4 separate regions of the Homo sapiens genome follow, and all the other regions are linked to region 1. The links are contacts of gene promoters, found by promoter capture Hi-C in blood cells and fetal thymus (Javierre and others, 2016). All regions are on one chromosome and are shown on one strand. Each heading gives the region's core, a stretch centred on a gene start or on the middle of the fragment in contact. The rest is flanking DNA. Distances are from core to core; before and after follow the strand shown.

Region 1 (6,365 bases), core at 3,810-6,309:
CTGGGATTACAGGCATGACCCCCACGCCCGGCCTTTTTGTTTTTATTTTTTTTTGAGACAGAGTTTCACTCTTGTTGCCTAGGCTGTAGTGCAATGGCACAGTCTCAGCTCACTGCAACCTCTGCCTTCCAGGTTCAAGCGATTCTCCTGACTCAGCCTCCCAAGTAGCCGTCACAACACCCAGCTAAATTTTGTATTTTTAGTAGAGATGGGGTTTCACTGTGTTGGCCAGGCTGGTCTCGAACTCTTGACCTCAGGTGATCCAACCACCTCGGCCTCCCAAAGTGCTAGAATTACAGGCCTGAGCCACCGTGCCCGGCCCCTTCTTTCTTTCCTTTCTTTCTTTTTTTCTTGTATTATTTCTTTTTTTAGATAGGTTCTCACTCTGTCAACCAAGTTGAAGTGCAGGGGTCTCATCTCAGCTTACTACAGCCTCCACCTCCCATGCTCAAGTGATCCTCCCACCTCAGCCTCCTGAGTAGTTGGGACTACAGGCACATGCCAATGCCACCATACCTGGCTAATTTTTTTATTTTTTTGTAGACAGGGGGACTCATTGTGTTGCCCAGGCTGGTCTCTAACTCCTAAGCTCAAGCAATTGCCCATCTCGGCCTCCCAAAGTGCTAGGATTATAGGCGTGAGCCACTGCACCCTGCCCCTTTTCAGAAAACTCTGCCAAGTCTCAGGATCACTCTTCCTCTTTAAAACCCTTCCTGGTGGCTGGGAGTGGTGGCTCACGCCTGTAATCCCAACACTTTGGGAGGCAGAAGCAGGTGGATCGCCTGAGGTCAGGAGTTCGAGACCAGGCTGGCCAACATGGTGAAACCCTGTCTCTACTAAAAATACAAAAAATTAGCCAGGCATGGTGGCACACGCCTGTAAGGCTGAGGCAGGAGAATTGCTTGAACCCGGGAGGCGGGGCTTGCAGTAAGCCAAGATGGTGCCATTGCACTCCAGCCTGGGCAACAGAGGAGACTCTGTCTCACAAAAAAAAAAAAAAAAAAAAAAAAAAAATTAGCCGGTTGTTGTGGCGTGTGCCTGTAGTCCCAGCTACTCAGGATGCTGAGGCAGGAGAATTGCGTGAACCCGGGAGGCGGAGATTGCAGTGAACTGAGATTGCCACTACACTCCAGCCTGAGCGACAGTGCAAGACTCCGTCTCAAAAACAAAAACAAAAACAAAACAAAACCGTTTGTGGCAAATGAACCTTTTATCTCAGGTTATCAGGCCATAATCTAGTCCCCGCCCTCGACAATTACATTTTATACCATTCTCTACCTTGCCCACTACATTCCAACTATTACTAGTCTTTCTCGGTTTCTTGAATGCTCTGTTTTCCCATGTGAGACATTTCACATACGCTATTTCCTTTGCCTGAAAAGTTCTCCCTTCACCTGCAGACTACTGGTCCTCATTCCTCAAGTCTTGGCCTTAAATCTCACTTCTGGCCTGTCGCGGTGGCTCACGCCTGTAATTCCAGCACTTAGGGAGGCCGGCGCGGGCGGATCACCTGAGGTCAGGAATTTGAGACCAGCCTGGCCAACATGGCGAAACCCCATCTGTACTAAAAACACAAAAAATATTAGCTGGGCATGGTGGCGCGTGCCTGTAGTCCCAGCTACTCGGGAGGCTGAGGCAGGAGAAGCGCTTGAACCAGGGAGGCAGAGGTTGCAGTGAGCTGAGATAGTGCCACTGCACTCGAGATCGCGCCACTGCGACAGAGTGAGACTGCCTCAAAAAAAAAAAAAAAAAAAAAAAATCCAAAAAATTTAGCCGGGCATGGTGGCGCACGCCTGTAATCCTAGCTACTCGGGAGGCTGAGGCACAACGATTGCTTGAACCCAGGAGGTGGTGGTTGCAGTGTGCCAAGATCGTGCCACTGAACTCCAGCCGGGGTGACAGAGGGAGACTCTGTCTTAAAAATCAATCAAGCAAGCAAGCAATCTCCCTTCTCAGAGAATTCTTCCTTGACCATCTCATATAAGTATTCTCACTGGTAATGTACTCTATCCTCACAACCTGCTAATAACACTTCATAACTGCTATAACTTCTTACTTCATAATGTTTTGTTTATTGTATAACTTTCCCACAGTCAGTAAGTTCCAAGAGGGAAAAGACCACGCCCGTTCCGGTTCTAACTATATACCCAGCGGCCAAAGCCTGACATACATAGCTGGCACTCAGTATTTGTTGAACGAATGAATAAAGAAGCTAACATAACTCAGTGGGCGGAGCAATGGGCCTGTCAGGGGCGTGGCCTCCGTAGAGGCGGAGTCTCCCCGGGGGACTGGGACCGGAAGCTTGGGCGGGGCTTCCCAGAGTGGCGCTCACGCCTTGGGGCGGGATTAGGCGGGCGGCGACTTCGCGGGCGGAATTGGGGCTTATTTTCCCTATCCCCTAGCAGTTTCCTCCCCCAGAGCCCTGGCTCACCCGAAGGCACCTCTCCCCACCACTCGGATCCGCTCGTACTTCTCCATCTCATTTCTTAGAGTTTCACTTCCGTCCCCCACGCGGCGCGTGCGCGGACCCACCCACTCTGGGCCCCGCCCCTTCACGGCGAGCGGCTTGCGGGGCGGAGCCAGCGCCCTAGGTGTGGGTTCCGCCACGCGTCCGTATTTGTGGGCCTGCACCACACACCTCCCGCTGCGACACGCCGTCACTTTTCCCCTCACGACCCTGCCCCACGCAGTGTCCAAGAATAGGGCAAGAAAATAGGGCGCGCCCGCAATGGCGGGCACGGTACCCGCCCCTCCCACACATATACCCAGCCCTTGTAAAGCTTGCTAGACTAAAAGGATGTCGCGTTCCCGAGAGTTAAACCCCACAGGCCGGGAAGGGGTGGGAAGAGAAGATTGACCCCCTTCTTGCCCACGAGTGACGCTATTTCAGGAGAAAGCGGGTTCTCCTTGGCACGCAAACGATAAACACACCCAAAACGACCGAGACCAGCGCTCCTGGGAGAAGGCAGCAGGGTTGGTTTCGTGTTTGCCTGGGGAGGGACGGGGGAAATCCCAAGTCGTGCAAGTTGATTCACCTGAAGAGGACATGACACGGTCTCGGGCCGTCCCGACTAGTGAGCGCCGCGCTCGTCAGCACTCTCAACTCCCCTTTCACACACGCGCTGCAGGAGGGTAATCTGCCCTCAGTGCTCATCTTCCCATGGGGGAAGATGGGGGCGGTAGTGGGTCAGTACCTGAAAGCATCAAGGGGAGAAGGAAAGACCGCGGTTTCGCCGAAATGAGCTCAAGGCAAAAGCCTAGAGGCAGGGGGCTGGTTAGTGTGACCAGCTAGGCTCTTTACCGGAAGTGAGGTTAATTCCAGGTTCTCCCGGGCTCCTGCTCTGCGGGAGCTCTAGAAAAACTCAGTATTCGGCCAGGCGCGGTGGCTCACGCCTGTAATTCCAGCACTTTGGGGAGGCCGAGGCGGGCGGATCACCTGAGGTCAGGAGTTTGAGACCAACCTGGCCAACATGGTAAAACCTCGTCTCTACTAAAAATACAAAAATTAGTTGGGCACGGTGGCGCGCGCTTGTAATCCCAGCTACTCGGGAGGCTGAGGCAGGAGAATCGCTTGAATCTGGGAGGCGGAGGTTGCAGTGAGCCGAGATCGTGCCATTGCACTCCAGCCTGGGCGATAGAGTGAGCCTCCATCTCAAAAAAAAAAAAAGAAAGAAAGAAAACATCAGTATTCAGGAGGAGGATGGTCACTAGCTGAAGGTTAGCGTCCCTGTATCAGAGTGGGCAAGGGGTGTGAGGAAAGGGGCGTTTTATCTTCTGCCCCTGTCCTGGCTCTCGCAAGGGTATCCAAACCCACCCACGTGGAATGACTGCTGGAAGGGCGCTGGCTCAGGCCGGTGTCGGCCGGCGGACAGAGCAGCTCTGTGAGCCAAGGGGAGGGGCGGGAAAGCCGCTCACCCAGGACACCCGTGTTCTCACCTAGAAACCGACTGGGCTTTGGTTGACTTAAGAGTCCCACAGGGGTTAATGTGTAACCTTGGAGCCATAGGGGAGGAAAACACTCAAACGGCTTGGTCCCTGGGTCCTTGCGCCTCAGGTTTTCTCGGCTTCTTCCTCCCGCCCGCAGCACCTTTCCCCTCCCCCGCTTCTTCCCGCCCCTCCTCTATTACTACCCTCTTCTCCCTCCCCGCTCTCATCTCCGCTTAACTTCCCTCGCTGGCTCTCAGCTGCTCCTCCTTTCGCCCAGAGTTTATACCTAAACTCTCCCCGAAAGCAGCTGCCTCGCTCGGAGGCGGGAGGGGGAGCCCGCGCCACAGTGAGGGCAGGCTGACACCTAGTGGCTAGGAGCCGCAACTGCTGCAAGCTACCGGCTTGGAGAGCGCGGGTCACTCCAGCTGTCCCGGCAAATCGGAGGTCTTGCTTGCCCAGCCTCCGGGGAGCCGGGCCGAGGGCCGGGACTGTCTGAGGGAGGACTGTGACAGCCGCCCGGCCCCAGGAGTTTAAGAGCCGGCGGGAAGAGGTGGCGATGGGTTACTCAGCAGTTCCCAAGTGCCCACCTCGCGGGCGCGGGAGGGACAGGTAAACACGGGACTCCGGCCAGAAGACTGCGAGTGGTGCGGTAGGGGCACTGGGTCTGCACGGAGACCACTGTCGGACGCGGGGCTCCGGAGCCCACCCCAGGACCAGGACTTAGGGGGCGTGGGCGTGTCGGGTCCCGTCCAGCTCTGCGCAGAAAGTAGAGGGCGGAGAGAGCTCTCGCGGTACCCGCCCAGGGCGGGGTAGCCGGTGGCCCGGGGAAAAGTGGGGACGCGGGTTAATGAGGCCAGGCGAGCGAGGGCAGCGGGGACTCCGTCGGCAGTCGGGAGGCGCCAGCGAGGGGTGTCTCGGCGACGACGCCCCCAGCACAGCTCCTAGTTACCCGAAGTCCGCGGGAGCCGGCCGGTGGCCGAGAGGCCACGGGGACACCCGGCTCGCGCGGCAGCAGCGCCTGAGGGGCGGGGGCAGGCGGACGGGGCGGGGGCAGGCGGGCGGGGCGGGGGCGCGGGCGGCTGGGGGCGGGGGCAGAGGCCTCGCAGGGAGGGCGAGGAGGAGCCAAGGGGCCTAGAGGGCTTCGCCAACTGTGTGGGGCTGGCGGCCGGCGGGAGAGGCGGCCGGCCTGGACTGGCCCGAGAGGGATCCCGGTTCCCAGAACAGACCTAGGAGGCGGCCTCGAGGGCGGACGGCAGGGAGGGCCAGCATGCCCCGACTGCTGCACCCCGCCCTGCCGCTGCTCCTGGGCGCCACGCTGACCTTCCGGGCGCTCCGGCGCGCGCTCTGTCGCCTGCCCCTACCCGTGCACGTGCGCGCCGACCCCCTGCGCACCTGGCGCTGGCACAACCTGCTCGTCTCCTTCGCTCACTCCATTGTGTCGGGGATCTGGGCACTGCTGTGGTGAGTGAGCGACTGTGGAAATGAGGTGGCCAGGGGATCCTGAGCGGGGAGCCGGGGCCGGCTCTTGTGTTACTACCCCCATCGCTCACTGGCGGGCTGAGGCCACGCAGTCTCACCTGATCCCGTTTGGTATCCTATCCAACCAAAAGCCGCAGTGGCCCCAGGGGAGGGGGATCGCCCCTGGGAAACTGGAGGCTCTTGGGTTTTGCCCAGCCACTCTTAGCTTCCCAGTCAGCCACTAGCGCGAGCCCAGGATCCCCCGGGGCTGCGAAGGGTAACCGAGAAGTTGATGGTCCTTGAGGGTGCCGAAATGCAGAGCCTCCTCTTCCCTCCTTTCCAGTGTATGGCAGACTCCTGACATGTTAGTGGAGATTGAGACGGCGTGGTCACTTTCTGGCTATTTGCTCGTTTGCTTCTCTGCGGGTAGGTCTTGCCCAGGAAGCGGGAGGCAAATTGGGGACAGGGAGAAGGAAGCTGCTTGTTCAGTTCATGATCTCTTGCCCCATCCCTCCACTAGGGTATTTCATCCACGATACGGTGGACATCGTGGCTAGCGGACAGACGCGAGCCTCTTGGGAATACCTTGTCCATCACGTCATGGTAAGAGAGAAGCAGACTATGTGGTATAGGCCTGGTGTCAGTAATCTAGTCTCAGCTCCGTCTTTCTGAATCTGGGAGAAGGCCGTGTTTTCTTACCACCCACCCCCGACCTGTGTGCTACTTCTTATGCTAGGATGCTGGAGGTTGGCAGTCTGTACTTGTTCACTGAGGCCAGCAACCCATGGTTTCACTGCCTCTTTAGACTGAACATCACCCACAGCCAGCTGTGAGCAGCAATCAAAATCTAGTAATGTTGAACTAACAAAACAAAGCATCTTACCCACTATAAACTATTATTCCAGGGGGAAATTTGGGATTTTCCAGCCCTCAATCTGATAGCCACACCCCCCAAACTTCCAGGAAAGCGTCTGCATCTG
Region 2 (6,180 bases), core at 244-2,743, 140 kb before region 1:
CAGGAGATCAAGACCATCCTGGCTAACACGGTGAAACCCCATCTCTACTAAAAATACAAAAATTAGCCGGGCGTGGTGTCGGGCACCTGTAGTTCCAGCTACTCGGGAGGCTGAGGCAGGAGAATGGTGTGAACCTGGGAAGTGGAGCTTGCAGTGAGCCGAGATCACACCACTACACTCCAGCCTGGGGGACAAAGCCAGACTCCGTCTCAAAAAAAAAAAAAAAAGAAAGAAAAAAAAAAGAAAGAACTGTACCAGGAGACTGGAAAGGTCATGGCCCAAGTCTGGACTTGAGAGTCCCCACTGACCCAGAGAATAGGAACTGGAAGCTGATGAATAGAGTTAGGGAGGTGTTGAGAGGAAAATTTCCATTTCTGACTCAGTATGTGTCTCAACAGGGGTGCAAGGGGGACACTATCACGTGTACGTGCACGGGTATGAGTGAGCACGAGCGCCCACAGGTGTATGCCCCGTTGGAGAGAGTAAACAGGGAAAGCCCACTGCAAAGCCAGGAAGGAAGGAGCTTGGCATCTGTTGAGCTCCTGTTGTTCATGTGCCAGGCTCTAGGTTAGAACTATCCACCTTCACTGTCTCATTTCATCTTCACCAGCATGGAAAAGAAAGCATTTGAACCCCTTTTTTTTGAGACAGAATCTTGCTCTGTCGCCCAGGCTGGAGTGCAGTGGCACGATCTCGGCTCACTGCAACCTCCGCCTCCCCGGTTTCAAGCAATTCTCCTGCCTCAGCCTCCTCAGTAGCTGGGATTACAGGCCTGTGCCAACAAGCCCAGCTAATTTTTGTATTTTTAGTAGAGATGGAGTTTCACCATGTTGGTCAGGCTGGTCTCGAACTCCTGACCTCGTGATCTGCCCGCCTCAAGCTCCCAAAGTGCTGGGATTATAGGTGTGAACCACCGCGCTCGGCCTTTTTTTTTTTTTTTTTTGAAACAGAGTCTCACTCTGTCACCCAGCCTGGAGTGTAATGGCACTATCTCGGCTCACTGCAACTTCTGCCTCCTAGGTTCAAGAGATTCTCCTCCCTCAGCCTCTCGAGTAGCTGGGATTACAGGCGCCTACCACCACGCGTGGCTAATTTTTGTATTTTTAGTAGAGACAGGGTTTCGCCATGTCGTCCAGGCTGGTCTCAAACTCCTGACCTCAAGGGATCCGCCCACCACGGCCTTCAAACTGCTGGGATTACAGGCATGAGCCACTGAACCTGGCCTGAACCCCATTTTACTGTTGAGGAAGCCAAGACTCTAAGATCAGGTGCAGGGGCCAGAATCACTCAGCGGTAGTGTGGTGGAGCCCGGACTCTGACAAGTCAGTCAGAAGCTGTGCTTATTTCCTGCTAGCTCTCAGTACTCCTAGACAGGAAGCAAGAACCCTAATGTACAACCCCTGAACTGTGAAGGCGAAAGCTCTGGTTCAAGCCAAACATGGGCCTGTGATTTCAGGACAAGTGAGCTTCATGAGAAGGCTTGGCTCATAAACTGCAGGAGGTCAGAGAAAGGAGAGGGGATTGTTGCTGGATTGCAGCTGCCCAAGAGCAGTGTGTGGAAGAGGCTAAACAAGGGATTAGATGACTAGGCATGGTGGCTCATGCCTGTAATCCCAGAACTTTTAAGGGCTGAGGTGGGAGGTTTGCTTGAGGCCAGGAGTTTGAGATCAGGCTGGGTTGCACAGTGAGAACCCCCATCTCTATTTTTTTTTTTTGGTCACTGTTGTCAGCCTGGGTTGGAGTGCAGTGGCGTGATCTCGGCTCACTGCAACCTCCGCCTCCCAGGTTCCAGCAATTCTCCTGTCTCAGCCTCCCGAGTAGCTGAGATTACAGGCGCCTGCCACCATGCCCAGCTAATTTTTCTATTTTTGGTAGAGACACGGTTTCACCACGTTGGCCAAGCTGGTCTTGAACTCCTGACCTCAAGTGATTTGCCTGCTTCGGCCTCCCAAAGTGCTAGGATTATAGGCGTATGCCACTGTGCCTGGCCTCTATCTCTATTTAAAAAAAAAAATTTTTTTTTCTGAGATGGAGTTTTGCTCTCGTTGCCCAGGCTAGAGTGCAGTGGTCCAGCCTTGGCTCACTGCAACCTCCACCTTCTGGTTTGAAGAGATTCTCCTGCCTCAGCCTCCCAAGTAGCTGGGATTACAGGTGCCCACCACCATGCCCAGCTAATTTTTTTGTATTTTTAGTAGAGACGGGGTTTCACCGCATTGGTCAGGATAGTCTCGAACTGCTGACCTCGTGATCCACCCACCTTGGCCTCCCAAAGTACTGGGATTACAGGCCTGAGCCACTGCGCCTGGCCCTAAAAAAATTTTTTTAAGACAGGGTCTCACTCTGTCACCCAGGCTGAAGTGCAGTGGTGCGATCACGGCTCACTGCAGCTTCAACCTCCCAGGCTCAAGCGATCCTCCCACCTTAGCCTTCTGAGTAGCTGGAACTACAGGTACATGCCACCACACCAGGCTAATTTTTGTATTTTATGTAGAGATGGATTTTGTCATGTTGCCTAGGCTGGTCTCCAACTCCTGGCCTCAAGCAATCCACTCGCCTCAGCCTCCCAAAGAGCTGGGATTATAGGCATGAACCACCACACCAGGCTTCTACAAAAATTTTGTTTTAAAATTACCTGGAGCCGGGCGCGGTGGCTGACGCCCGTAATCCCAGCACTTTGGGAGGCCGAAGTGGGCAGATCATGAGGTCAAGAGATAGAGATCATCCTGCCCAACATGGTAAAACCCCATCTCTACTAAAAACACAAAAATTAGGGCCGGGAACAGTGGCTCACGCCTGTAATCCCAGCACTTTGGGAGGCCGAGGTGGGTGGATCACCTGAAGTCGAGAGCTCAAGACCAGCCTGACCAACATGGAGAAACCCCGACTGTACTAAAAATACAAAATTAGCTGGGCGTGGTGGCACGTGCGGATAATCCCAGCTACTCTGGAGGCTGAGGCAGGAGAATCACTTGGACATGGGAGGAGGAGGTTGTGGTGAGCCAAGATCGTGCCACTGCACTCCAGCCTGGGTGACAAGAGCGAAACTCCGTCTCAAAAAAAAATAATAAATACAAATACAAAAATTAGCTGGGTGTGGTGGCACACGCCTATAGTTACAGCTACTTGGGAGGCTGAGGCAGGAGAATAGCTTGAACCCAGGACACAGAGGTTGCAGTGAGCCCAAATCACGCCACTGCACTCCAGCCTGGCTACAGAGCGAGACTCGGTCTTAAAATATATATATATATTACCTGTACCTGGAGCCAGGCCAGGCGTGGTGGCTCATGCCTGTAATCCCAGCACTTTGGGAGGCCAAGGCGGGTGTATCACGAGGTCTGGAGTTCAAGACCAGCCTGGACAAGATGGTGAAACCCCATCTCTACTAAAAATACAAAAATTAGCCAGGCGTGGTGGCGGACACCTGTAATCCCAGCTGCTCAGGAGGCTGAGACAGAGAATTGCTTGAACCCGGAAGATGGAGGTTGCAGTGAGCCGAGATTGCACCACTGCACTCCAGCCTGTGGAACAGAGCAAGACACCCTCTCAAAAAAAAAAAAAAAAAAATACGTGGAGCCGGGTGCTCACGTACAGGCTCATGCCTGTAATCCCAGTACTTTGGGAGGCCAAGGTAGGCAGATCACTGGAGGTCAGAAATTTGAGACCAGCCTGGCCAACATGGTGAAACCCCGTTTCTACTAAAAATACAAAAAATAATTAGCCAGGAGTGGTGCATGCCTGTAATCCCAGCTACTCGGGAGCTGAGGCAGGAGAATCTCTTGAACCCAGAGGCAGAGGCTGCATTAAGCCAAGACTGTGCCACTGCATTTCAGCCTGGGCGACAGAGCGAGAAAACAAATTTTTTCCTGGGTGTGGTGGTATGGGCCTGCAGTCCCAGCTACTTGGGGGACTGAGGCAGGAGGATTCCTTGAGTCCAGGAATTCAAGGTTGCAACGTGCTGTGATTGTACCACTGCACTCCAGTCTCTGGAAAAAAAAAAAAAAAAGAGGTCCGATAGATGAGTGGAGTCTGCCTGCATAAGTAGAAACACAGAAGGAATCCTTGCATCATTCAGGGGCTTTCTTACACGATTTCACTGAATCTTGTTTGTTTGTTTGCTGTTGTTTTGAGATGGAGTTTCACTCTGTCGCCCTGGCTGGAGTACAGCGACGCAATCTCAGCTCAATGCAGCCTCCGCCTCCCAGGTTCAAGTGATTCTCCTGCCTCAGCCTCTTGAGTAGCTGGGATTACAGGTGCCTGCCAGCACACCCAGCGACCTTTTTTTGTATTTTTAGTAGAGGCAGGGTTTTGCCACGTTGAACAGGCTGGTCTCCAACTCCTAACTTCAAGTGATCCACCCACCTTGGCCTCCCAAAGTACTAAGATTACAAGTGTGAGCCACCGTGCCCAGCTAGATTTTACTGAATCTTCTGAAGGATCTTGTGAGGCAGGTATTATTCTCATCCCTATAATAGATAAGGAGGCTCAGAATCACATTACTGGTAACTGGCAGAACTTAGGTTTGATTCCATTGAAACTCAAAAAGGCCTCACAAAGACACAAAATCTACCCTATTCCTAGCGGGTTTGTGCATAGAGCCAGGGTGTGGGGTCTGGAGAACAGGGCTGTAGTTCTGCTCACTATAAGACTCGGGCCAAGCACTTCCTCCCTGAACCTTAGTTTCTCTATCGTGAAAATGGCATGCAGGTGTCTTTTGGAGATGGATGGACATCGGCAAAGCCCCCAGGAAAGCCATTCCTAGGACCCCACTCCCTGGAAGGGCTCCAGGGGCATCTGGGTACAGTGCTCAACATGCACACTTCCTCATGGGGCTGAACGGCATAAAGAGTATAAGGGAACATATGCTTGAGCATCTGTTCCATGTAAGGCGTTCTCTGAACACCTCCCAGGATAAATCCCGGGTGCTGGGCCAGGGAGATGGTTCAGACAAGGTGCCCATTCATGGAATGGTTGGGGACAAACAAGGGAATTTGCCACACTGTGATGAGGACAACAGTAAGAGCAGGTCCCAAGCCTGGACCTCGAGAGGGAAGTGTCAGGGAGAGTGAAGAGAAGCTTCACAGACCAGTCAGGATGAAGTGGAGCAGGCCTCTCTGACAAACTCCTAAATCTCAAGCCCCATTGACCTCATGGAGGGTAAGGATTAGAATGGTTTTCCAGGCTGGGCGCAGTGGCTCACATCTGTAATCTCAGCACTTTGGAAGGCTGATGCGGGAGGAATGCTTACTCAGTTACTCTTGAGAGGCTGAGGTAGGGGGATCCCTTGAGCGCAGAAGTGAGTTATGACCACAACACCGCACCACTGCACTCCAGCCTGGGCAATAGAATGAGACCCTATCATTTTTAAAAGAAAAAAAAAACAAAAAAAAAAAACAGTGGCCGGGCAGGCGGATCACCTGAGGTAGGGGGTTCAAGACCATCCTGACCAACATGGTGAAACCCCGTCTCTACTAAAAATACAAAAATTAGCTGGGCATGGTGGTGGGCGCCTGTAGTCCCAGCTACTCGGGAGGCTGAGGCCAGAGAATCCCTTGAACCCGGGAGGCAGAGGTTGCAGTGAGCTGAGATTGTGCCACTGCACTCCAGCCTGGCAACAGAGCGAGACTCAGTCTCAAAAAACAAACAAAACAAAACAAAACGAAAAACCAGTTTTCCAGCTTCTCAAAATTTCTCAAAGTCCTTTGTTCCTGAATGAGTTTTGCTACTGTCTGTGCTATGAGACATTGAATGAGAAAACACTGAATAACTGTTTGAATAACCATATTATTTGGCCTCCTTTTATCCTTGTATAAAATTGCTAATGTCATGAGACATAGTAAAGCAACCAAGAGGAAAATAAGAGTAATTCTACCCGCTGAATTTATTATTTATTTTTTAGAAACAGGGTCTCACTCAGCCAGCCTCCCATGCTGGAGTTCAGTGCTGCTGCAATCATAGTTCACTGCAGCCTCAGTCTCCCGGGGTCAAGCAATGTTCTCACCCCAGCCTCCCAAGTAGCTAGGAATACAGGCATGTGCCACCACAGCTGACTAATTTTTTTTTTTTTTTTTTTTGAGATGGAGTTTTGCTCTTGTTGCCCAGGCTGGAGTACAATAGGATGATCTCAGCTCACTGCTGCCTCTGCCTCCCGGGTTCAAATGACTCTCCTGCCTCAGCCTCCTG
Region 3 (6,541 bases), core at 945-3,444, 200 kb before region 1:
GAACTCCTGGGCTCAAGCAATCCACCCACCTCGGCCTCACAAAGTGCTGGTATTACAGGCATGAGCTACTGCACCCGGCCAGAAGTGTGTTCTTAAACTTGGTAACTCTAAAAGTGATCCTTTAGAAACTAGCAAGATGCTACTTCTGAGAGCCTCTTAATACAAGTTTAAGCATTTTACCTTGTGTTAAGATAAACGATATTGAAAATCAAATTGTTTAAAGAAGATTAAAATGAGTAGAGGTGGGATGGTTCAGTAAGTACAGGCTTGCCAGTATGGACTTGGACTCCTCTTCTGTCTCATTGTGTAGTAACTTAGAAAACATAAGTAATTTCATGTGTGATTTAACCCACAAAACAGTTGCCTGCCCCATTGCATTACCTCCCCTCATAGCTTTGAAGGATTACACTCACTTCCTAGAAGCCCATTCCTTAGTGTTCCCCAGTTCTTTAAAGCTTTATTGAGTACTTACTACATGCCAGGCATTGTACAGGGTGTGGAGGTACAAAGGCAAATGAGGCATGGAGAAGGGGATTCAGACATGTAATGGTTTGAATACAGTGTGGTGCAGAAGTGCTCTGTGGAACCAGAGACTTTCAGAGAAAGCTTCCTGGAAAGAATACGTGACTTGAGTCTCAAAAGATAAAGAGCTTACCAGGTGAAGTAGTTAGGGAAGAGTGGTGTAGTTGTGGGTAGCAGCCCTGGAGTGAGCAGAGACACAGATGAGAAACAGTATGGTCTGTGTAGGGAGCCGGCCAACTGATTGAGCTGGAGAAAGAAGAGGGTTCTGGCCACAGGGGTCTTATCTTCTCTACTTTAAATGTTTTAAATGTTTGATGTAGGATATCTTGGTACAAAGCCAGTGGGCAGATGAACAGAAATGATGAGAAACAGAATCAGAAGTGACACCCTTCAGGGTTAATTTTGATAGGACAGCTACTGAAGCATAGCAGAGTCTGTAGGCCTTTGAAAATTACTTGCATGCATTTCAGTAGTTTAGATGTGGCCTTTTGTAGAATTACATTGGCTAGAATGAGCGGAGACTTACAGGTGACATTCACCTGTGGTCCTCTAGGGCTTGGAGATCTGTCCCAGCAGGCCATTGTTTTTCCAGTTTCCTGATTCCTGGTAAGCATCCTCCTGAGATTTCACTAAGGAAACAGGGAGGAAGGGAAGTAATGAGCTGTGAAGCCTTGGTGGGCATCTGACATGTAAGCTTGGGGCTCTGGGGAAACAGGGAGCTAAGAAAATTTGCCAAGTCAAGTGCTATTTTATGTAGAAATGGTAAAACAGCATAGCTTTAAGCTCTGAGATACTCAAGTTTGGCTGGGCACAGTGGCTCACGCCTGTACACCCAGCACTTTGGGAGGCCGAGGTTGGTGGATCACCTGAGGTCAGGAGTTCAAGACCAGTCTGACCAACATGGAGAAACCCCATCTCTACTAAAAATACTAAAAAATTTGCCAGGCATGGTGGCGCATGCTTGTAATCCTAGCTACTCAGGAGGCTGAGGCGGGAGAATTGCTTGAACATGGGAGGCGGAGGTTGCAGTGAGCCAAGATCGCACCATTGCACTCCAGCCTGGGCAACAAGAGCAAAACTCCATCTCAAAAAAAAATACTCAATTTTTTTTTTTTTTTACCATTTCCCCCATTATTTGAAGAAAAATTTCCTGCATACCATTCCAAGTAGGTGACTTAGCCAAGAACTCAATGGTAGGAATTTCTTAAGCATAAATGTGGTTTTTGTTGTTGTTGTTGTTGTTTTGTTTTTGAGACAGAGTCTCACTCTGTCGCCCAGGCTGGAGTGCAGTGGCACTGTCTCGGCTCACTGCAACCTCCACTTCCCAGGTTCAAGCGATTCTCCTGCCTCGGCCTCCTGAGTAGCTGGGACTACAGGCGCGTGCCACTACACCCGGCTAATTTTTGTATTATTAGTAGAGACAGGGTTTCACCATGTTGGCCAGGCTGTTCTCAAACTCCTGACGTCGTGTTCTGCCTGCCTCGGCCTCCCAAAGTGCTGGGATTACAAGTGTAAGCCACCATGCCTGGCCTGTTTTTTGGTTTGGTTTGTTTGTTTGTTTGTTTGTTTTGAGATGGAGTTTTGTCACGCAGGCTGGAGTGCAATGACATAATCTTGGCTCACTGCAACTTCCGCCTCCCGAGTTCAAAGGATTCTCCTGCCTCAGCCTCCCAAGTAGCTGGGATTACAGGTGCCCACCACCACGCCCAGCTAATTTTTGTATTTGTAATAGAGATGGGGTTTCACCGTGTTAGCCAGGCTGGTCTTGAACTTCCAATCTCAGGTGATCTGCTGTGTGCACAACCTCTGTATTATAAAAATACAAGGAGGGAAGAGATCCAATCATTGTCCTAGTCCCTCTAATAAAATAAGTAAGAGAACTGCTGAAATGGGCAAAGCATGAGAAGTGCCAAAAGAGAACTAACCCATGCAGCAAGAGGTCCAAGATACAGGAGTAATATGAACTCATGGAAAAGCTGTTTGGTTATCTATTGTTGCATAACAAACTACGCCAAAACTCATTGGCCTGGTACAGAAACTCATTATTATCTCTCACAGTTCTGAGGGTTGCCTGGGCTCTGCTGGGTGGTTTTTCTGTTTCACATGATGTTGGCTGGGACTGCAGTCATTTGGAGGCTTCACTGAACTGGTAAGTCCAAGATGACTCACTCACATAGCAGTAGTTGCTGCTGCGTGTTGGCTTGGAGTTCAGCTGAAGCTGGTTTTTTGTTTTCTCAAGATGGAGTTTCACTCTGTTGCCCAGGCTAGAGTGCAGTGGTGTGATCTTGGTTCACTGCAACCTCCACCTCCCAAATTCAAGCAATTCTTCTGCCTCAGCCTCCCAAATAGCTGGGATTACAGGCATGTGCCACCATATTTGGCTAATTTTTATATTTTTAGTAGAGATGGGGTTTCGCCATGTTGGCCAGGCTGGTCTTGAACTCCTGATCTCGAGTGATCCACCAGCCTCGGCCTCCCAAAGTGCTGGGATTCCAGGTGTGAGCCACCACGCCCAGCCCAAAACTGTTGATTGGAATACCTTGTCTCCTCCATGTCCTCTCTCATAGCATGACAGCAGGGCTCTGAGATGGAACTTTCCAAGCATATTTCTTAAAAAATAGAATCTGCAGATCTCTTAAGGCCAAGCTTTGGAAGTTGCAACATTGTCACCTCTGCTGCATTCTGTGGTCAAAGCAAGTCATAAGACAAGCACAATTCAAGAGGAGGGAAAGGGACTACCTGTGGATGGGAGGCAGAGCAGATAATTTGCAGCTGTCTTTAATCCATCACAGCTGATTGAGGCAGGTATGAAAGGATGAATAGAGTTTTGACAGGCATAGCTTTCTAAAGGAAGAGTATTCTAGAGGAAGAAATAGGAAGTCTTCCATTTGAATAGTGGGAAGAGCACCTGAAGGGGTCTGGGAAGATGGAACGGTGGGACCATGTGACAGGGCTTTGAACAGCAGTTAGAAAAGCTTGGCTCTACACTAACAGGCTTTAAGAAAACAGTGTGGAGGACCTCTCAGTTATTTTATTATACCTTTCCCTACAAACCCAGTGTTAATAGCTCTGGATTTGGCTTCTCTCTCTAAGGTGTGGGAAGGGATGGTCACTCCTTAGGTTATTATGAGTGATGCTGACTTAGGCATTTTGGAGGAGACAACCCTAGCAGTCCTGCAGGACTGGCCACAATAGGAGTTTAGGAACATGCAAACCTAGCTAGGCTTTTCCTACTGCCTCAAAGGGCTAGTTATTTAGTCTTGCCCTTGTCTGTTCCCCACAGTAACCCTCCACTGAGTGAAGAAATGTTGCCTCCTGGAGAGTGGATGTGTCACCGGTGCACTGTTCGCCGAAAGGTAATAATGCTGCTTTCTGAAGACTGTCCAGAAAGCCTGATCCAGAGCACTGATATGCTAGAGCTAAGACGGCCTAGCCCTGAAGGCATTCTTGTCCCTTCTTCTTGTCTCTTCCAGCCCTGGAATCACCCCACTCTTCCCATGGTGACTGTTTGGAATCCAGTAGGGCCTAAAAATCCAAACATGGGCTGCTGAAATGGGCAGAAGAGGTGTGTTAACTTACTGAGCCATGTTTAGTCACTAGTGACAGGAGTAGTCTTACCTTCTTGTTGTCCTCCTAATAAGTGGCCTTATCCATGGCTGAAAAACAAAGGCTGCTTCTCCAGCTTGATGGAAAATGGAGTTTTCTCTCACCCCAGGGCAAATAAGTCACTGGTATCCAGAGACTTGGCATACTGACGGAGAGGATTTTGAACGCATTTGTACCCCAAGTTGCCTAATCTTTCTTTAGCTTCCCTTCCTTCAGCTTTGATAATTCAGTACTGGCTTCAAGAACATGGTTTATTATTTTCTACTTTGAGAACTCTTGTGGGTAACAAGAGCTAAATTCTCCCTTATTAAAAAAGGAAGTAGGTGTGCTTGCACCCAAATTATGATTGACCCAACCCTCAAATTACAGGCTATGGATTAGAATTTGTCTGTGCATTGTAATCCACCCCCCTGTGCTCCCCACACTAATTATACACCAAGCAACTTTCCTATGTTGTGACCTCACCTCTATTTGCCTGGTCCCCGAACATGATGTCACAATGAATGATGACTTCCTTGGTTGCAGAAACAGGATGAGATGATTAAGATTGTGGTTTATGTGTGTAACAGTTTCAGCCTTTAAGAAAGAAAGTAAACAAGCAGACATTATTTTTCAAATACGTGCATAAGGGTTCATATTTAAAAGCAAGCCAAAGCCAGGTCAACCACCTAACCACAGCTGTAGTTAAATTTCTCCATAAACCAGGCTGTCTTCCAGCCTCTCCACCTTCCAAGATCCTTTCCTGTGCATCCCTAATTAGGTTAGAGCAGGGCCTGTTAGAGGCACCTGCCAGCCAGGAGCCCTCTCAAACTTGCCACTCAAAAAAGCTGGACCTGAAAAGGTTTAGGGGAGCTGAAGGAAAAGGGGTAAAGACGGTGGAGAAAAGGAAATATTATGTTAGTGCCCATCGTGTGCCAGGTGTTTTAATTACGTTATCCCATTATCTATCCATCCAGCCATAGATGGATACCGAATGCTGGCCGTAGGTTTCCATTTTAGAAAGGAAGAAACGGAGGCTCAAAAATGTAGATTAACTTTCCCAAGGACTCAAAGGTATTGACAGAACCAATGTTTGAACCAAATTCTCTCATTCCAAACCTCTGTTACCTCTTCATCAGTTTTCTAGAAGGAGAGCTACTTGTTGGGGATTACAGTATGCCCTTTTCTAACATGGCACTTCTCCTGAGATGCCTCTCTTACCTTTCACATGGACCTCTGCCTACCAGTGCCAAGTCTGCCTTTTCCACCATCACCAGCACTACTCCCCTTTGGCCTCTTGTATTTACACTGAAGTGGATTGAAATAATACATCCTCTGGCCTTCATCAGCTCCTGACATTCAGGCCCTATCATGATTCGTAGTGGAAGACTAGGTCCTACTCCAACTCCAAATTATCCCTTTCGTATATATGACCCTTTTTATCTCCCTCCACCATATCCCTGAGAGGAGGAGGAGAAAGATTTTTCTGTCTCATTTTACAGATGAAGAAATTCCTGCCCACCAGCCTGAGTCACCACAAGGTCAGAGGGGATCCGTGGCAGAAATAGGACAAGATCACAGGTCTCCTACCTGGAGATCAGTGTTAAACCTTCATTTGACCACTCTATTTGGAGTCCTGGAGGAAAATGTACTATCAGATATCCAGTCCTACTGAGTACACTTAATCTTTTTCCATTTCCCCACTTTCTAAGAAGTGTCACTTATTTTGAGCAAAGTTTTTATTTTTAAAACCATTCAGGAGGTCAGAAGGCTCTATAGTGATCTCACTGATTTTTTTTTTTTTTTTTTTTGAGATGGAATCTTGCTCTGTCGCCCAAGCTGGAGTGCAATGGCGCAATCTCAGTTCACTGCAATCTTTGCCTCCCAGGTTCAAGCGATTCTCCTGCCTCAGCCTCCTGAGTAGCTGGGATTACAGGCACATGCCACCACACCCAGCTAATTTTTGTGTTTTTAGTAGAGATGGGGTTTCACCATGTTGGCCAGGCTGGTCTTGAACTCCTGACCTCAGGTGATCTGCCTGCCTCGGCCTCCCAAAGTGCTGGGATTACAGACGTGAGCCACCGTGCCTGCCCCATTGATTTTTACTATTGGTCTCACTAAATTTATTCTCACTGTGTTACCTTTTTAGCCCTTTACCCTATACTTTATAGATGTTGTATGTCATACAATGAGTTAATGTTAATGATATATATTTTGTATAGTTATTCCTAACTTACCATGCTTTTTGGTGATTCTCTGATGCAACAGTTTTGTCAGCTTTAGTTCAGTTAGAGTTGTGTCAACTTTAACAGACCAGTGTTCCAAGTGACCAGGTAGATGAGTCTGTGATATGTGAAGGCCTTTTACAGTTTTGATTAGTGGTCTACCAGGACTTTGTAGCACCCATCTCTTTGTTTCATGGTACTTTTCATGA
Region 4 (5,713 bases), core at 1,571-4,070, 180 kb before region 1:
AGATGGTATCTTGGCCACAACAGCCAACCAACGATTCAGCTCACCAGCGCCATCGTCAGGTGAGTGCTGCTCAGCCTTGGGTTGATTTGGAATAATTTTATGCTCTTTCTGGCAAATAAGATTCTAAAAGCACTTATATCCCTGTGAATACTTCAGAGGACTTTGGCCTTTGTATTGTTTGTCTTACTCTCATTTCCGTAATAGAAGAGGAAGCACATGTTAACTTGTCCCGTTTATAAATGGGACTGCTTAGGCTCTGAAAGCTTCAGTGATTTCCTTAAAATGACCTACTGAGTCAGTGGCAGGATTGGAACCACAGCCCAGGTCTCCTGACTCCATCCCATACCTTCCAGGCCTAGGCCTCTGCCTGTTTTGTTCTGTCACCTTAAAAGAAGGCAGGGTGCTCTCTGGAATTACTATGATCAGCCTGAGGTTCTGCGTGATGGCCTCAGTATTGTCAGATCCACACAAAAGAATGGATTCATGCCTGATGCATATTCTCAGAAAGAGTTAATCTGATGAACTTCCATGTCAGGAAGCAGGGCTAGACAGCAGCACTGTCTTTCAGAGGAGCTGTAGAGTGGGATGCCCACAGGGATTGTTCTAGCCCAGAAGCGTGCCCTCAGGCCACATGCCAAAGGGCGGTCCTTCAGGTCTGTACTTGGCCTACTGTGGACCTGCTCTCTCAGCTGTCCCCAGAGAGCACTCAGGACCTTGAAGTTGCTGACCCCAGCATCTGAACCAGGTTTCAGATGCTGCCGGAACCCTCTGTGGTCTCTCCCGTCTGAACTGAAGCCGGCCTCCTAGTCAGCTGGGAGTCTCGGTAACCAGATGATTGTGATTTCTCTGCATGGGAGCCCCTGGTCCCAGGATGGCCCCGCTCCCAGGCTGTTTTCCTATCTCTGTTTATCGCTTAAAACCAGCGTGGGTAGATTCTCCACGCCGTGAGTCATATTTCAGTAGGCAAGAATTATAAGGGCAGGCACTACTTATTTTAAAGTAGAGGCAGCAGGGAGGTGGTCATGGCCCAAAGAATGAAGCTGCCCCACCACTTTCCCCAGAGCAGTGGATTTCAGTGGTTCTCAGTGCTCTGGAGACTCCTGCGTGCCTGGGTGCTTTGTCGTTCCATCTGCCCTTCCTCACCACACGTTTTTAGCTCTAGGAGTTCCAGAGCCTATGGGTTGAGAATCAAGAAGGGAACATCACCTTGGGTCCGAAATCCAGACCTGTCTCAGCAGTGGGGGATTGGACGGTGGGTTTCCCTCAGGCGACGTAAGTAACAGTCTTCCTGCTCCGTCCCCAGATGGCAAGGTCAGCCCCGGCACGTTATCCATAGGAAGCGCTTTAACCGTACCCTCTTTCCCAGCCAACTCTACTGCCATGGTGGACCTCACCAACTCACTTCGAGCATTTATGGATGTCAATGGAGGTGAGTGAATGAGCTGCTGCTGTTCCACCGTTTGCTATGTTGAAGGTGCTATTCCTATACAGCATTCAGCTCATTTCAGAAAGGGAGGGAAGGGACACCTGATCCCAGAGGCCTAGGGGGAGATGGGAATGAGGAGTATCCTTTTGGATGGGGGGGCGGGGTGAAAAAGAAAGCTCCTTCTGTAGCTCTGCCTTCTACATGTGCATATACACATAATCAAAGATGAAGGGAGGACAGAGCCAAGCTGAACCAGTGAGACGAGAACAAAATCACTTTAGGCAGATCACCTGGATTTGCAGAATAAAACTAAGATCCTCACTCCCAAAGGAGGGACCTCATCTGTGGGAAACCCCCAAAGTCCAGGAGAACAGGGACAGATCTTGATCTCTGTGAACACAAGGTGGGTAGAAAGTTCAAGTCTCAATATCAGACATCCAGGCCCTCCCCCACAGACAGGCAAGTGGTTTATTCCACTCTGCCTTTCTAGGGGCACTTTAATTAAAATCAGTCCACCCAACTACAGGAGGCAGCTGCACAGGCTGCATTGGGGCCCATCTCACTGCAAATGGCAAGTGAGATGCCCAGCTGCAGATCCTTGTACGCTCTGCACTCAATGCTGTTTGAGTAAAAATCACTTGGCTGGATTTTAGAAATGCCAAACTATTTGCTCTGTGACCCTGATTTGCTTCCACATTCCACTTCCCATCTCAGCTGCTTTTTAATCTTTCTCTTTGGCTAATAGAAATCGAGATAAATATGCTGGACGAGAAGCTGATCAAGTTTCTGGCCTTGCAGAGAATACATCAGCTTTTCCCCTCCCGGGTCCAACCTTCACCGGGCAGTGTCGGGACACATCAGCTGGCTTCTGGAGGGCACCACATAGAAGGTGCGCATGTACACACCTGTCACCACATCATCAGATCTCCCCTCTACGTGTGCGAATGGTCACCTTGCCTCCATGGAGAATCTGAGCTTCCAGTATCTCAAACCTCCTTGTGTGCTTTTCATGGGCTTAATAAAGCACCATGGTTTTTTTCTGAAGAGAGCAGGAACAAGATGGCAACCACAGCTTTCTGATCAGACTTGGGGAAGTCTGCTGTAACTTTCTTTCATATATAAGTCCACTTCGAGACACAGCAAAGCAGCTACCAGTACCTTTGGGTATATGTAGTGTACTTTCTGCTTACTTGCTTTCAAATATTTGAATTAGAAGGGCTTCCCGACTGAGTGCAGTGGCTCACACCTGTAATCCCAGCACTTTGGGAGGCTGAGGCGGGAGGATCACTTGAGCCCAGGAGTTGGAGACCAGCCTGGGCAACACAGTGAGACCCTATCTCTACAAATAATTTTAAACTTACCCAGGCATGGTGGCATACACCTGTAATCCCAGCTGCTTGGAAGGCTAAGATGGGAGGATCGCTTGAGTCTGGGAGGTCAAGGCTGCAGTGAGCTATGATTGTGCCACTGCACTCCAGCCTGGGTGACAGAGTGAGACCCTGTCTCCAAATAAATAAGTAAATAAATAAATAAAATTTTAAAAAGAATGGCTTCCCAAGAGGGAACTTTTCAAGTTCAAGTTGAGAAATAGAATAACACTAGGCCAACCTTCTGGAAATTTTCCCCAAGTGGTTAACTCTGTTTCAGATATGTCTGAGCATTGGCCATTAAGAGCCTTGCTGCTTCAAAGTGTGGTTCGCAGACCAGCAGCATCAGCAGCCCCTGAGAGCTTGTTAGAAATGCAGAGCTCAATGCATTGGTTTTTTGCCTATTTTTAAAGAAAACAGCAAAAGAAATGCAGAGCTAAGGCCCCTCCTCAGACCTATTGAATCAGAATCTGCATTTCAACAAGATCTGTAGGCGATTCTTATGCACATTAAAGTTTGAGAAACACTGGTCCATGCCGTCTGTTTTTCCATATTCTCCCTATAGTACCAGCTGGAATATCCCGGATTAGCCAGCCAGGAGCCCAGGAACTTACACAGTACTGTCATCTCTGACTTCTCTGACCATCTTCAAAGATGGTCCTCTGTACCCTGTGTTGGAAATGCTGTGGGTGGGGAGAGAAAGCCTTACCCTGCCGCAGCTCAGTGTTGGATGTGAGTTTGGAAAGATGAGTCATCCAGCGGGATTTTCTCCAGGCCATGAGCCAAAGGTCCAGATTTTGTTGGTTTATGTTTGGATCACAGGATCTGAGTTTCTGAATGATCCTATTCCTATGTTTGTCTTGTAGTGCAAAGAAAGGAGGTACAGGCCCGAGCTGTGTTCTACCCCCTCTTAGGGTTGGGAGGAGCTGTGAACATGTGCTATCGAACCCTCTACATCGGGACAGGTGAGCCAGCCAGGAAGCTGGGAGAGACACTGAATCTGTTCAGCCCTAAAGACTGACACCCTTACCCACAGAAGTTAGAAAGGGGTGAGGGAAGCCCTTTCCAGAGTTGACTGCTTTAAATCAGTGGATAGCTAGACAAGAGAAACTAAGAATAGAGACAATCAGCCAGTCACGGTGGCTCACGCCTATAATCCCAACACTTTGGGAGGACAAGGCAGGAGGAACACTTGAGCCCAGGACTTCGAGACCAGCCTGGGCAACATGGTGAAACCCTATCTCTACCAAAAACAAATATAAAAAATTAGCTGGGCTAACATGCCTATAGTCCCAGCTACTTGGGAGGCTGAGGTGGGAAGATCACCTGAGGCTGGGAGGTCCAGGCAGTGATCCTTTTTGTGCCTCTGCACTCCAGCCCAGGCAACAGAGTGAGACCCTGTCTCAAAAATAAAAGAGACAATCAGTTCCTTGTCTTCCCTTGTTCAGGCCCTTTTGCTTTGTCTTTGCCCAGTGTTGCAACAGCAGAGATGAAAGTCAGCTCTGACTACTGCCCAGGGAGGCACTTTAAACACTGCAGGGAAGAACCTAAGGAGAAGGCAGATGCTTTGTCCCTGGTGGTCTTTGAAAGAGTGATAGACTCACACATACCCAATCTTCAGTTAGCCCTGTATCTGTTTTTTGTTTTGTTTTGTTTTCCCTAAAAGTCCTAGAGACCGATAGCTCTGTATCTGGTACAGAAGGACAGACAGATTAGCCCTTACCCTAGAAACTTCCCTTTCTTTAAGGTGATAAGATTTTCTAGGCTCTGCACCCCGATGTTGTATTTTCATAGAAATATCCCATCCTCTTCAGTAGCTCACTCTTCCCTTCTGGGTAGCAGCCACATGTTCTAAAGCAGATCAGCTGGCAGGGACAGCTGTTCTTTATCAGGAGCTTGGAAAAGACAACAGTTTTTGTTCAAAAATAAAAGGGGAGGGCCCTGAGCTACTCACCCTTGAAGTCTCTGCTAGTGCCAACCCAGAAGCTAACTCTCTCCCTGTCTTACCTCCCCGACACATGCACCTTACAATCTGTTCTCTGCCTTCCTTTTCCTCTACTCCTGCCACCTTGCAGGAGCTGACATGGATGTGTGCCTTACAAACTATGGTCACTGTAACTACGTGTCCGGGAAACATGCCTGCATATTCTACGATGAGGTGAGGGCCGGAGATGCGGTGGGAGGGAGCTTTCCCAACCTGAGGCCTCTCCCAGGCAGTAGGTTTTTGTTCAGTGCCCTGAGGGGAGGGAAGAGGGATTGGGGGTCCTCTCTTTTTCTTCCCTCCCTGTCATTCCTGGAGGAGGAGAGTCTTGATGTGAAATAGCATCCTACCTGGGAAGCTACCTGCTTCCCAGGAGCAGGGCTACCATTTTTCCTGAGGTTAGTCACAGGCACAACAGAGGGAGCCTACCCTAAAGCAAGGGAGGGGACCAGCATAGAAGGAAGCCAAGCCTTGTGGGTGTGTCCCTGTGAATTTCATTATCATCACGGGCCAGTGAGTATCATACCAAGAGGAGCGGTGCTGAGAGGGCAGAGTGAAGGAGTGGGAGAGTAGGGAGTGTGGGACACCAGAAGGAAAGCTTCCCTGAGGAGGTGTCTCCAGCCCCCTTCTGAAAGGACAGGGGCCATGACTGGGGAGGCAAGTAAGGACTCTCTAGGTAGAGTAGCACGGCCTTCTCCATATGTCCTCTCTCCCCTTAGCCCCAGGCCCCACACAGCAGACCACACATCTTATCTCCCCTCCTCCTCCTCAGAATACCAAACATTATGAGCTGTTAAACTACAGTGAGCATGGGACAACGGTGGACAATGTGCTGTATTCATGTGACTTCTCGGAGAAGACCCCGCCAACCCCCCCAAGCAGTATTGTTGCCAAAGTGCAGAGTGTCATCAGTAAGTTGGAGCAGAGATCTGTGGCCAC

The links. Contacts are between HindIII fragments. The CHiCAGO score rates a contact against its expected background, and 5 or more counts as called.
Region 2: a contact is called between a fragment that was not itself captured here and the fragment with the promoter of TLCD1 in region 1, in 5 of 17 cell types (endothelial precursors, megakaryocytes, erythroblasts and 2 more). The highest score is 7.2, in endothelial precursors.
Region 3: a contact is called between a fragment that was not itself captured here and the fragment with the promoter of TLCD1 in region 1, in 10 of 17 cell types (activated CD4 T cells, total CD8 T cells, naive CD4 T cells and 7 more). The highest score is 13.4, in activated CD4 T cells.
Region 4: a contact is called between a fragment that was not itself captured here and the fragment with the promoter of TLCD1 in region 1, in 17 of 17 cell types (activated CD4 T cells, endothelial precursors, naive CD4 T cells and 14 more). The highest score is 31.7, in activated CD4 T cells.

Annotation. Positions count from the first base shown.
Region 1 is chr17:28,724,927-28,731,291 of GRCh38, reverse strand. It overlaps TLCD1 (TLC domain containing 1), which reads left to right and starts at 5,059. Exons shown (of 4, transcript NM_138463.4): 1 at 5,059-5,388; 2 at 5,729-5,811; 3 at 5,906-5,988. The coding sequence starts at 5,195. NEK8 (NIMA related kinase 8) reads right to left here and starts at 2,504. Exons shown (of 15, transcript NM_178170.3): 1 at 2,432-2,504. The coding sequence starts at 2,478. RefSeq lists enhancers at 4,076-4,799, 4,800-5,523, 5,691-5,740, 5,861-6,160, 5,524-6,247 and 3 more and a silencer at 4,751-5,280. The HindIII fragment of the contact is 5,537 bases long and covers 2,783-6,365 here.
Region 2 is chr17:28,866,526-28,872,705 of GRCh38, reverse strand. No RefSeq gene overlaps it. Among named protein-coding and RNA genes, the nearest start is that of MIR4732, 7.9 kb to the right of the region's middle. RefSeq lists an enhancer at 1,070-1,139. The HindIII fragment of the contact is 7,165 bases long and covers 1-5,075 here.
Region 3 is chr17:28,924,328-28,930,868 of GRCh38, reverse strand. It overlaps PHF12 (PHD finger protein 12), which reads left to right. Exons shown (of 15, transcript NM_001033561.2): 3 at 3,806-3,878. LOC101927018 (a long non-coding RNA gene) reads right to left here and starts at 4,594. Exons shown (of 2, transcript NR_110803.1): 1 at 4,141-4,594. RefSeq lists enhancers at 4,593-4,772, 4,793-4,842. The HindIII fragment of the contact is 1,952 bases long and covers 1,219-3,170 here.
Region 4 is chr17:28,906,828-28,912,540 of GRCh38, reverse strand. PHF12 (PHD finger protein 12) reads left to right here. Exons shown (of 15, transcript NM_001033561.2): 9 at 1-59; 10 at 1,304-1,429; 11 at 2,172-2,315; 12 at 3,660-3,758; 13 at 4,869-4,951; 14 at 5,547-5,685. Among named protein-coding and RNA genes, the nearest start is that of DHRS13, 6.6 kb to the right of the region's middle. RefSeq lists a silencer at 3,516-3,810. The HindIII fragment of the contact is 5,109 bases long and covers 266-5,374 here.